Regions from separate parts of the Homo sapiens genome. Here region 1 is linked to region 2. The links are contacts of gene promoters, found by promoter capture Hi-C in human tissues and cell types (Jung and others, 2019). All regions are on one chromosome and are shown on one strand. Each heading gives the region's core, a stretch centred on a gene start or on the middle of the fragment in contact. The rest is flanking DNA. Distances are from core to core; before and after follow the strand shown.

Region 1 (5,718 bases), core at 2,474-4,973, 100 kb after region 2:
ATAAATAGCATTGAGTGTACAAATTGCTTTGGGCAGTATGGCCATTTTAATGATATTGCTTCTTCCTATCCATGAGCATGAAAGTTTTTTAGCTTTTACATTTGTCTGTGTCATCTCTGATTTCTTTAAGCAGCAGTTTGTAGTTCTCCTTGTAGAGCTCTTTCGCCTCCTTTGTTAGCTATATTCCTAAATATTTATCTGTGTGGGCATTGTGAATGGGATTGAATTCCTGATTTCGTTCTCATCTTGACTGTTGTTGATGTATAAGAGTGCTAGTTATTTTTGTACACTGATTTTGTGTACTCAGACTGCTAAAGTTGTTTATCAGCTTAAGGAGATTTTTGGCTGAGACTATGGGGTTTTCTTTTCTTTGGAAATGGAATCTTGCTCTGTCACCCAGCTTGGAGGGCAATGGCACGATCTCGGCTTCAACTATGGGGTTTTCTAAAGATAGAATAATGCTGTCTTGCAAACAGGGATAGTTTGGCTTCCTCTCTTCCTGTTTGGATGCCCTTTATTTATTTGTTTGATTGCTCTGGTGAGGGCTTCCAATACTGTGTTGAATATGAGTGGTGAGAGAGGGTATCCTTGTCTTGTGCTGGTTTTTGAGGGGAATGCCCCCAGCTTTTGCCCATTCAGTATGATCTTGGCTGCAGATTTGTCATGAATAGCTCTTATTATTTCAAGACATGTTCCTTCAACATCAGTTCATTGAGAGTTTTTAACATGAAGGGTGTGGAATTTTGTAGAAAGACTTTTCTGCAAATATTGAGATAATTGTGGTTTTTGTCTTTGGTTCTGTTTATGTGATTAATCACATTTATTGATTTGCATAGGTTAAACCAACTTTGCATCCCAGGGATGAAGCCTACTTGATCGTGGTGGATTAGCTTTTTGATATGCTAATGGATTCAGTTTTCAAGGATTTTGTTGAGGATTTATGCATTGAAGTTAATCAAGGATAACAGCCTGAAGCTTTATTTTCTGGTTGTGTTTCTGCAGGTTTCGGTATCAGGAGAATGCTGGCCTCATAGAATGTGTTTGGGAGGAGTCCCTCCTCCTCAGTTTTTTTTTTTTTTTTTTTTTTTTGGAAGCATTTCAGCAGAAATGGTATCAGCTCTTTTTTGTGCATCTGGTCGAATCTGGCTGTGAATCCATCGGGTCCTGGGCCTTTTTTTTTTTTTGGTAGCTTATTTATTCCTATTCAACTTTGGAGCTCATCATTGGTCTGTTAAAACATTCAATTACTTCTTGATTCAGTCTTGGGAGGGTGTATGTGTAGAAAAATTTACCTATCTCTTCTAAGAAGGTTTTCTAGTTTGTGTGCATAGAAGCATTTTTAGTAGTTACTCATGTTACTTGTATTTCTGTGGGATCAGTGGTCACATTGCCTTCATCATTTCTAATGGTGTTTATTTGGATTGTCTCTCTTCTCTATTAGTCTAGCTAGTGGTCTATCTATCTTATTAAATTTTTCAAAAAATCAACCCCTGGATTTGTTGAACTTTTGGATAATTTTCTGAGTCTCAATTTCCTTCTTCAGTTAAGCTCTGACGTTGGTTATTTCTTGTCTTCTGCGAGCTGTGAGGTTGATTTATTCTTGCTTCTCTAATTATTTCAATTGTGATGTTAGGTCGTTAATTTGATATCTTTCTAACACTAATTTTTATTGTGTTGTGGTTCAAGAGTATGTTTAGTATGATTTCAGTTCTTTTCATTAGCTAAGGATTGTTTTATATCCAATTATGGGGTTGATTTCAGAGCATGTGGCATGTGGTGATGAGAGAATGCATATTCTGTTGTTTTCAGGGACAGAATTACGTAGAGGTCTATCAGACCCACTTGGTCCAGTGTTGACTTCAGGTCCCATATACCTTTGTTAATTTTCTCCCTCAGTGATCTAACGTCAATGGAGCGTTAAAGTCTCCCACTATTATTTTGAGGGAGTCTATGTCTCTTTGTAGATCTCTAAGAACTCGCTTTATGAACCTAGGTGCTCATGTGCTGGATGCATACATATTCAGAATAGTTAGGTCTTCTTGTTGAATTCAACACTTTACCATTATTTAATGCCCTTCTTTGTCTTTTTTGATCTTTGTTGGTTTGAAATCTGTTTTGTCTGAAATTAGGATCGCAAGCCCTGCTTTTTTCTGTTTTCCATTTGCTTGGTAGATTTTCCTCCATCCCTTTATTTTGAGCCTATGGGTGTCATTATGTGTTAGACACGTTTCTTGAAGACAGCATATGATTGGTTCTTGTTTTATATGCACCTTGCCACACGGTGCCTTTTTAGTGAAGGGTATTTCACCCATTTACATATAAAGTTAGTGTTGATATTTGTGGATTTGATTCTGATGTTGTGTTGTTAGCCAACTGTTATGCTGGCTTGCTTTATAGTGTCAGTGGTCTGTGTATTTAAGTGCATTTTTGTACTAGCTGGTGGTGGTCTTTCTATATTTAGTGCTCCTTTCAAGATCTCTTGTAAGGCAGGTCTGGTGATAACAAACTCCCTCAACTTTTGCTTGTCTGAATAGGATCTTATTTCTCCTTCACTGAGGAAGTTTACTTTGGCTGGATATGAAATTCTTGGTTAAAGGATTTTTTTCTTTAAGAATGTCAAATATAGGCCCCCAATCTCTTCTGGCTTGCAGGGTTTCAGCTAAGATGTCTACTGTTAGCCTGATGGGGTTCCCTTTGTAGGTGACCTGCCCTTTCCCTCTTGCTGCCTTTAACATTCTTTCTTTCATTTGGACCTTGGAAAATCTGATGATTATATGTCTTGGGGATGGTATTCGTGTGTAAAATCTTGCAGGAGTTCTCTGTATTTCCTGAATTTGTTTGATTCTCTAGCAAGTTTGGGGAAGTTGTCATAGACAATATACTGAAATAGGTTTTCCAAGTTGTTGGCTTTCTCTCTGTCCCTTTCAGGGATGCCAATGATAAATAGACTTGGCCTCTTTATATAGTCCCATACTTTTCAGAGGTTTTGTTCATGTCTTTTGGTTGTTTTTATAATTTTTTGTCTGACTGTCTCATTTCAGAGAGCCAGTCTTCAAGCTCTGAAATTCTTTTCTCAGCTAGATTTATTCTCCTGTTAATACTTGCAATTGCATTGTGAAATTCTTGTATTGTGTTACTCAACTCCGTCAGGCCTCTTAGTGGTGGTGGTGTTTTTTTTTCCTATGGTGGCTATTTCATCCTTCAGCTCCTGTATTATTCTATTGTGATTCTCGGTTTCCTTGCATTAGGTATTGCCATCTTCCTGAATCTCAACGGTCCTCATTCCTGCCCATAGTCTGAATTCTATTTCTATCATGTCAGCCAGCTCTGTCTGGTTAAGAACTCTTCTTGGAGAACTGTTGTGGTCCTTAGGAGGACGTATGGCACTCTGGCCATTTGAGTTACCAGAGTTCTCGCGTTGGTTCTTTCTCATCTCTGCATGTGGGTGTTCCTTTAACTTCAGTGCAGACTCAGTACAGTCAATAGACTTCTTTTCTGGATGTTTTCACAGAACTGACACTTTATTCGGGTCTTGATTTGAAGCTGACTTCTTGTCTTTGGTTTCAGATGGGAGTATGTTAGCAAGGTACTTTTGGTGTTGAGGTTCTAGGGTGTGATCCAGTAGGTGGCGCTTAGGAATATTGGTCAGTTGGTAAACTCTTGCTCGTTTGTGTGGCTCCTCTATGTTGAACCACACTTGCAGCCCTGTTCCTTCCCAGTACTCTGAAAGTATGGGTTCCTCTCCCCCTTGAGTGCTGGCTGTAGATTGTGGCTTGGCACTCCTGGGCTGCCCACTGCAGCTCGGGGGCGATCTCAGTGTTTATGTTCCTTCCCCAACTTGGAGGCACAGAGAAAGGGACCTTAGTAGTGGCTGTGGCCAAGGGTCTTTCGCGTGTCTCCTGGGGGCTCCACCCATAGAGATGCAGGTCAGCATTCACTCAGTGCAATCAGCCCAGGTTGGAGTGTCTGTGCTGTGGGCCCAAGCCGGGGGTTCCCTGTCTGGTAGTGAGCAGAGGGGAGCATGTGGGGCCCATGGGAGATGGACTGGCCTCCTCTCCTTGGGTCAACTGCAGCTCGTTGGAGGTGTGGATCAAGGACATAGGGTCTTTGCTCCTTCACTAGTCCAAGGGTAGCAAGGGCAGTTCCACTGCAGAGGCAGTGGCAGAGAGGCTTTCAGTTGCCCCTGGAGGCTGTGTCAATGGAGTTGCCGAGCTGCCACTGGCTCCATAGGTCTGGCGAGGGGTGGCTAGAGGACCTGCCAGGTGAGGAGTTTCGGGAATGGGCACCCATGTAACAGTGTGGCCACTTTCTGTAGGGCTGCTGCAGTATGCTGAGGGCCTGCTCCAGTCCCTAGTCACCTTGGATTTTTCAGCACCTGGAGGTATGAAGGTTGCAAAACAGCAAAGATGGTGGCCTGCCCCTCCCACTGGAAGCCCTGTCCCAGGGAGGTATGGAGCTGTTGACGGCCTGAATGCATCTGTAGGAGGTAGCTGGAGAGACCTCGGTTGACAGGTCCCGCTGAGTGAGGAGAAGCCTCACTCAGAAAAGTATTGGGGCCACTTTTCTTTTTTCCTTTTTTTTTTGAGAGAGTCTCACTCTGCCACCCAGGCTGGAGTGTAGTGGCACAATCTGGGCTCACTGCAACCTCTGCCTGCTAGGTTCAAGCAATTCTCCTGCCTCAGCCTCCCGAGTAGCTGGGACTACAGGTGCACGCCACCACGCCTGGCTAACTTTTTGTACTTTTAGTCAAGAGGCCGTGTCACCATGCTGGCCAGGCTGATCTCCAACTGCTGACCTCATGATCTGCCCACCTCAGCCTCCCAAAGTGCTGGGATTACCGGCGTAAGCAATTGTGCCTGTTTTTAGAAAACAGCACTACGTTTTTTTGAAAAACCAGTCTGTGCATCGTTCTGTTGAGCAGCTGTGTTGTGCTGTGCTGTGCTGTGCTGTGCTGTGCTGTGCTGTGCTGTGCTGGGGGTCTGCTTCCGTCCCCGATCTCCTCGTTCACTTCTGAGCCCGAAGGCTGGAAGGGCTAAGTTGCCCAAATAGAAGAGATGGTGGCCTACCGCACTCCCTGGGAGCTCCATCTCAAGGAGATTTGGGACGTCTGTCAGCCAGAGAACACTGGCAAGGGTGGCTGGACACCCCAGTTGAAAGCTCCCACCCAGTGAAGAGGAACGGGATCAGGGACCCACTTGAAAAAGCAGTCTGGCCACGTTTTCGTAGAGCAGCCCCCAGTTGGCCCTTTTAAGCGGGTCCCTGATCCCGGTGTTTTCCACCTGACAGAGATCTGAAACCTCCCCAGGATGAACCTCCAAGAAGGAGAGGCAGGCCGCCATCTTTGCTGTTGGGGCAACTTAGCCATTGCATCCTGCAGGCTTTAGAGGGTTCAAGCCGATCGGGGGTGGCAGTGCCAGCCTAGCCCAGCCACACGCCATCCTCACTGAGCGGGACCTCCCGACTGGAGTCTCCAGGCACTCTTGCCAGTGCTCTCCAGCTGACAGAGGTTTGAGGCCTCCCTGCGACAGAGCTCCTAAGGGGAGGGGCAACCTGCCATCTTTGCAGTTTTGGTGGCTGGGCGGATCCAGCTTTCTGGCTTGGAAGTGAACCCCGTGACCAGGAATGGGAGCGTACCCCCAGCACAGCACAGCTGCTCGATGAAAAGATGGCCAGACTGCCTACTTTTTTTTTAAGCATTGAGAGATGGACTGGCCTCCT
Region 2 (5,759 bases), core at 2,834-5,333:
CAAAATCAGAGAAATGAGAGAACATGGTCCATGTCTTCCAATGCTAGGTCCAGCCCCAGTGGTCAAAGGCGCAGCCCTGGCCCTGCATCTCCTCATTGGACGAACATGCTCACGCCTTCGTAAGCACCTGTGCTCCGGTGACCTGGCCCAGATGATTAATTCCAGGTTCCTGCGGTCTTTACCTGTCTGACAAGATAAGAGCTGGCAACCATTTCTGGTTCTCCCTGCCTTCACCTGCCCTCAAGATTGCCATCGTCAGTGAAAAAACACCTATTGTTCTCACCTGTAGCATTTCCAAACCAAGAGCTGCGTCACTGCTGGAGGAAAGGCTGGTGGGGGCACAGAGGAAAGGAAATTTACACCCCACCTTCTTGTCAAGGAGGAGGTGAGTGATTTCTGGGTCAAATTATGTAAAATCAAGGCTGTCTCATATGTAACACAGAAAGGGGTTGAATGAGATGTTCTGCACGCCAGGCCTATGTACTCCAGGACCCTACAGGTACCGAATCTGCTGCTACATGAACAAGCCACCGTCTCCACCCAAGTCACCTCCAGCCCGCTGAGTAGAGTCATCTCTATCACTGGCCATCAGCACCGTGCCTAAAAGCAGGGCCACTGAGCGGCCCTAGGATCCTGCGTTTAGACACACCACACATGAGAACTGCCGCTCCTAATTCCTGTGAAAGTGGGGGCACACAACCACAGGAAACAGAAAGGGAAATAACCCTCTAACAGGGAAGATATAAGGAAACAGTTTGTTTAAGGAAGTAGGCTGTTTCACAGAAATCCAGAGAGGAAAAGTCAGACTTCATAGAACGCTGTGAAACGGCATGTCTCTCAGGAACAGGTGGGAAGGGAAGGTTTTGTATTCTGCCCCGAGGGAGGCAGGGCGCCGCCAACTTCCAAAAGTGTGTGAAATACACCAACAAGCCACAGACTGACAGTAGACCTGAACTCTTCTCCAGTAAAACAAACCTGAGCCGTACAGAGAATTAAAAAGCTTTCTTTACATGCCACCTATGGAGGAAAAGGGCCCAGTATTAAGGTCTTCCTCAAAGTGAAATATTTTGGTGTCATGGGTGAGGGGGCAGCAGTACAGGCTGTGTAAAATAGTGCCTGGGAATATTCAGGGGGCAGTGATGGCTGAGGGAACTCTGCATCTCATCATTAGGAAGAAAAAGAGGCAGCCACCGTGGGAGGAAGAAGCAGTACACAGGAATTGGACAGAAGCCAACCGAGCACTGTCACCAAGAGCAGCAGGGAATGCCAAGGAGGGAAGTGTGAGGTCAAGCACAGCCACGCAGAGAAGGAAGGGAGGGCTGGGAAAGTGCTCCACAGGCCTGGAGAAGAGTCCCTGAGCTGTAGAGACAGTGTCAGAGGATGGTGGGGTCAGTGGCAGGAAGCAGGGAAGCAAGTGCTGCCTTGACGAGACTTCCTGCTGCCCGGCTCCCCTAGGGCTCTTGGACGTGACATATGCAGGTGGGAGCACACCTACCCCCCAGATAAACTCGCCCCGACAAGGACTGCCTGGTTCATGGCTCAGTTCTTCGCAAGCTACCTAAAGGCTTGACATTATCAAGTGTTCAATACATGACCATGAAGTCTTTGAACACTTTGCAGTTTCGTTAAAATAAGAATTTAAATTCAAGAAGCAGAAAGCTGAGAGATTGACTTGTAGCATACTTAATTCCTTACTAATGTCACTAAGAAGACTGGTGAAATTTGTACTGAAATAGCAGCACAAAACCTAGAGTTCCTTGTTCAAGGAAAGGAAAAATGTGCTAGATAGCTATGAAAGCAGCCATTTCACACGAAGCTTATAACATGTACCAGCTTCATAACAACTTCAGCGTTTGGCAGGAATGTTATCACTGGCAGAACACAGGAACAGAGCAGACTTTGTCTGTGATAGTCAACCTGCATGTGGACCTCCTTGATGTCTGGAGCTTTGTTGTGAGACCTCAGGCTGCTTTCCTCAGGACCAAGGCCCCTAACGATTCTAGCTGACTAACAAATGCCTGGGTTAAGGTTTCACCACTGACTACAAGTACCTGATTTTTAAAAATTTTTGTGCACATTGATTCGGTTCTTTCCTTGGTAAAATGTAGTTACTAATAAAGACAGAATTATGACATCCTGGACCTGGTTTAAATTAAGGAACCCTGAGAGGAAGCCGAAGTCCAGCAAGAGCACAATTAGCAAATATGTTAGGACCTGGCCTCTGGCTCTTTTGCCCGGACAGGGTTTTAGAGAGGGGCAGGGAAGAAAAGGTGTTTTCCCTTCAACAAGAATTACAGATTGTTTTCTTCCAGTTTAGTTTGGTAACAGGTAGATTTCACAGAATGACAGTAGTCCAGCCTGGGAGCAGGTAGATTTCACAGAATGACAGTAGTTCAGCCTGGGAGCAGGTAGATTTCACAGAATGACAGTAGTTCAGCCTGGAAGCAGGTAGATTTCAAAGAACTGCAGCAACAGCTTGTCCATAACAGGTAGAGTCATTCACTCCTGGGATGAGCCAAGCTGGAAGGAATGTGTCCTAGGAGACTCAAGGTTTCCCAATGTTTCATTTGTCAACAGCTCATAAGCAAGTCACTTCCACTTCACACGACCTCACAGAGACCCCACACAGATGCATTTTGGATTTTGGTGAGCTGTTATAATAGTCAGAGGCAGGGACAGGCTCAGCCTGAATCCTGCTCAGAGGCCAACCAGGATTGGTTAGTGCGAGTCAGCCCACACCTCCTTCCCCCATGCTCCGGAGGAACAGTGGGTGTGTTGTGAATTCACTGGAAAAGTGGTTGGAAGGACGCATTCCAAACTGCTAAGACCTCCCCTCCTGGAAGTGGGACTGTGGTGTGGATGGTTCTGGAAGAACGCAAAAGATACAGGGCCCTGACCTTTAGGCCTAAGCGTGTTAATGACCATACACGAAGCAGGTGTTTCTCAGCGTCCCCCTGCCACCGCCCCGACTTGTACTGTGGGCTTATTTTTAAAGAGAAAGATGCTTCTAACCTGCAGTGTCTACAACAGCTCCCATTTAAGAACCCGGGATTGGAAGCTCATAGATTGCGTTTCGTAGCCGGACCGCTCCCTTTCACACATGTAGTCTCTCTGCCCGCCACACGTAGCACACACAGTGGGACCCGGCGCCGCTGAACGCCTGCACCTTCAAGCCCGCAAATGGTTCTCTATCCTTTTCCAGGTACTTGATCTTCAGAGAAACACGATCTCCCTCTTAGACCTTACTTTACAGTTGCTGCCACGCAATGACTTAGGATTTTACCAAGAATTGGCTTGGGTCTGTTGGGATATGAATATTAACCCAAGCAGGAAAATAGCCAATGCTGCCTGTTCGACCACGAGCGGGTGCGAAGCGCAGGGAAGACTCCTCAGGGTCCACCCGCCCCTTGTCCCCCCTGCTCCCCAGGCAGCGTCTCCGCCCTTGGACCCGGAGGCAAGGAGGAGCGCTTCTCCCAGCACCACCAACCTGGAGGGCTCCGCCGGACGGTTGGGGCCTCCCCTCGGAGACCAGAGCCCGCGCTTCCAGGAGGGGCCAAGCCTGGGCCCCTCCCGCGCCCAGCTCCCGTTGTGATTTCCAGGACCCCCAGAAGCCCGGTCCCCTCGCATCGCGGAAGCTTTGCTCGGGGTTCCTGGGACCGGACCCTCTTCTGCGCCCGCGACTGCAGCAGCGGCCAGAGATGCATGCAGCCACTCGCCAGCTGTCACCTGGTTTGCAGACGCCCGCGCACCTCGCAAGAGCCACACCTGGTACCTGTGCCCAGCTGCAAGAGGGTGAGGAGGCGCGGGACGGGATTGGGCTCTGCCCGCGGGCGCGGCTGGACGGCTTGGGCACCAGTGGGGCGGATGGGTGTGTGCGCGGGGTCGCGGAGCGCAAGAGAATGCGGGGAGCAGGGGGCTGAAGGGAGCGGGGTACGGTACTAGAGGCGCACAGGGGAATATGAGGCCACCGAACGCAAGGCGATTGGAAGCGCACGGCAATCAGGGGGACGCGGGGCACTCGCCTGATGAGGGCTCCTGCATAGTCCCGGGCGGCCTCCATGGCGCGGATCCCCTAGCGGGCCTGGAGGTCTGTCTGCCTGCACAGCCTCTTAAAGTGCGGCGGCCCCGCCCCCGCCCGCCTGCCAGCCCCGCGAAGGCCTGACTGGCGCAGGGGAGGACGTTTTGGCACGAGCTCTCCACCGCCGAGGATCGCGACTTCGCGCTCTGGGAGCCCCCGGTCGTCCTGGCTCCCGCAGCCTGGAGCCGCGCGTCCTTCGCTGCCTTGGGCCGTACCGAGGACCTTGGAAGCCCAGATGCTCCCCGGGTCTCTTTTGGTCACTTGCCAGCCTGTTCGTTTTGCACTTCTGGGGGTCGGGGCAGTTGGGGTCATAACCAATCCTGGCAGCATCACTTTGGCCGCGGAAAGACGGGTATGTGGATTTTAAACCCAGGCCACGGGTGGGGCAGGTGAGGAGACGGATGTGAGCGCCACTTGCCTCCAGCTCTGGAGTCCCCCAGAGCCCAGCCCCAGGCTCAGCGAGCCGCTGGTTCCCTGCAGGGATGCGGAAGCTGCCGCAGACACCGGGACCTGCAGCCCTTCAGGTTCTCCGAGGCGCCTGGGCTTCCTGCCCGCTGCGCTGCTCTCAAGGCCATGTCATGAGCATTTGGGGACAGTGAGAAGGGCATGCAGAACGGGAGGGGAAAGGAGCCTTTGGACTGCATGAATTGCCTTTTAGCTGTAGTAAGGGACCCTCGCAGAGTGAGGAGGCAAAGAGTGAACCCCGCTGGGGCTGGGGGACTTCCGTCCACACCCTGCTCTCATGGTTGTTCCCATCGGAAGACGCAATTAGGGCCTCTGAGACCTCCGAGGAAGGCGGGCAGTTACAAGGGGTTCCCAGAACCCCTCACTACAGGACTGAAGAGGTGGGCTCAGTGTTGAGGGGTGGGACTCGGGCAGTAAGAGGTGTAACTTTCTGGGATGGAGGCTTGCTAGGATATCCTCTCGTGCCCAACTGCTGACTGCCGCCTGGAAACAGCGTTTCGGGAGCTGCAGCGGGACCCTCGCCGGCTCCTCCTGAGCCCACCTGGTTTGAGCAGACTGACCTGATCTCTTAAGACCTGACCCTATGCCCGCCCTCTTCCTCCGCTGGCTCTCAGAAAGGGTCACCGTGGTCAACAAGCCTTGTGACTTGCAGGACTGTTGAAGCCAAAGGCAATTGCCTTCCAGAGTCAAGGACTCCGCCTGCTGGGAACACCCAGCTCCAGGCTCACAGGGGGCAGCTTCCCCCAGAGGCACTGAGCGGACACAGCTTTAGGAGGTCATTCACTGCCCCTCCCACTCACAGCCCCAATGTGATGGATGAGAAAATGGGTCCAATCAATTCAGGTCAACTTACCTCTAACCTTTTTATTGTGAAAAAGTTCAAATATAGAGATACATAGAAAGAACAGGGCTGAGGGTACTGGCTTACATCTGTAATCCCAGTACTTTGGGAGGCCAAAACAGGAGGATGGCTTGAAGCCAGGAATTTGAGACCAGCCTGGGTAACACTGTGAGACTACTATCTCTACACAAAAATAACGATAATTAGCCAAGCATGACGGCGAGCACCTGTAGTGCTAGCTACTCAGGAGGCTGAGGAGGGAGGATCACCTGAGCCCAGGAGTTTGAGGTTGCAGTGAGCTGTGATCATGTCACTGCACTCCAATATGGGCAACAGAGTGAGACTTTCTCTCTAAAGAAAGAAAAAAATCTGTTT

Evidence for each region. Contacts are between HindIII fragments. The study calls those that stand out against the background at their distance.
Region 1: a contact is called between a fragment that was not itself captured here and the fragment with the promoter of CIDEA in region 2, in 4 of the 25 tissues and cell types used here (H1 embryonic stem cells, heart left ventricle, mesendoderm cells and 1 more).

The regions. Positions count from the first base shown.
Region 1 is chr18:12,147,549-12,153,266 of GRCh38, reverse strand. It overlaps a transcript of ANKRD62 not described here. Among named protein-coding and RNA genes, the nearest start is that of C18orf61, 50 kb to the left of the region's middle. The HindIII fragment of the contact is 9,377 bases long and covers 1-5,718 here.
Region 2 is chr18:12,252,685-12,258,443 of GRCh38, reverse strand. It overlaps CIDEA (cell death inducing DFFA like effector a), which reads right to left and starts at 4,083. Exons shown (of 5, transcript NM_001279.4): 1 at 4,023-4,083. The coding sequence starts at 4,060. LOC105371996 (a long non-coding RNA gene) reads right to left here and starts at 3,431. Exons shown (of 2, transcript XR_935158.3): 1 at 3,013-3,431; 2 at 988-2,865. RefSeq lists enhancers at 1-185, 4,341-4,947. The HindIII fragment of the contact is 10,266 bases long and covers 2,727-5,759 here.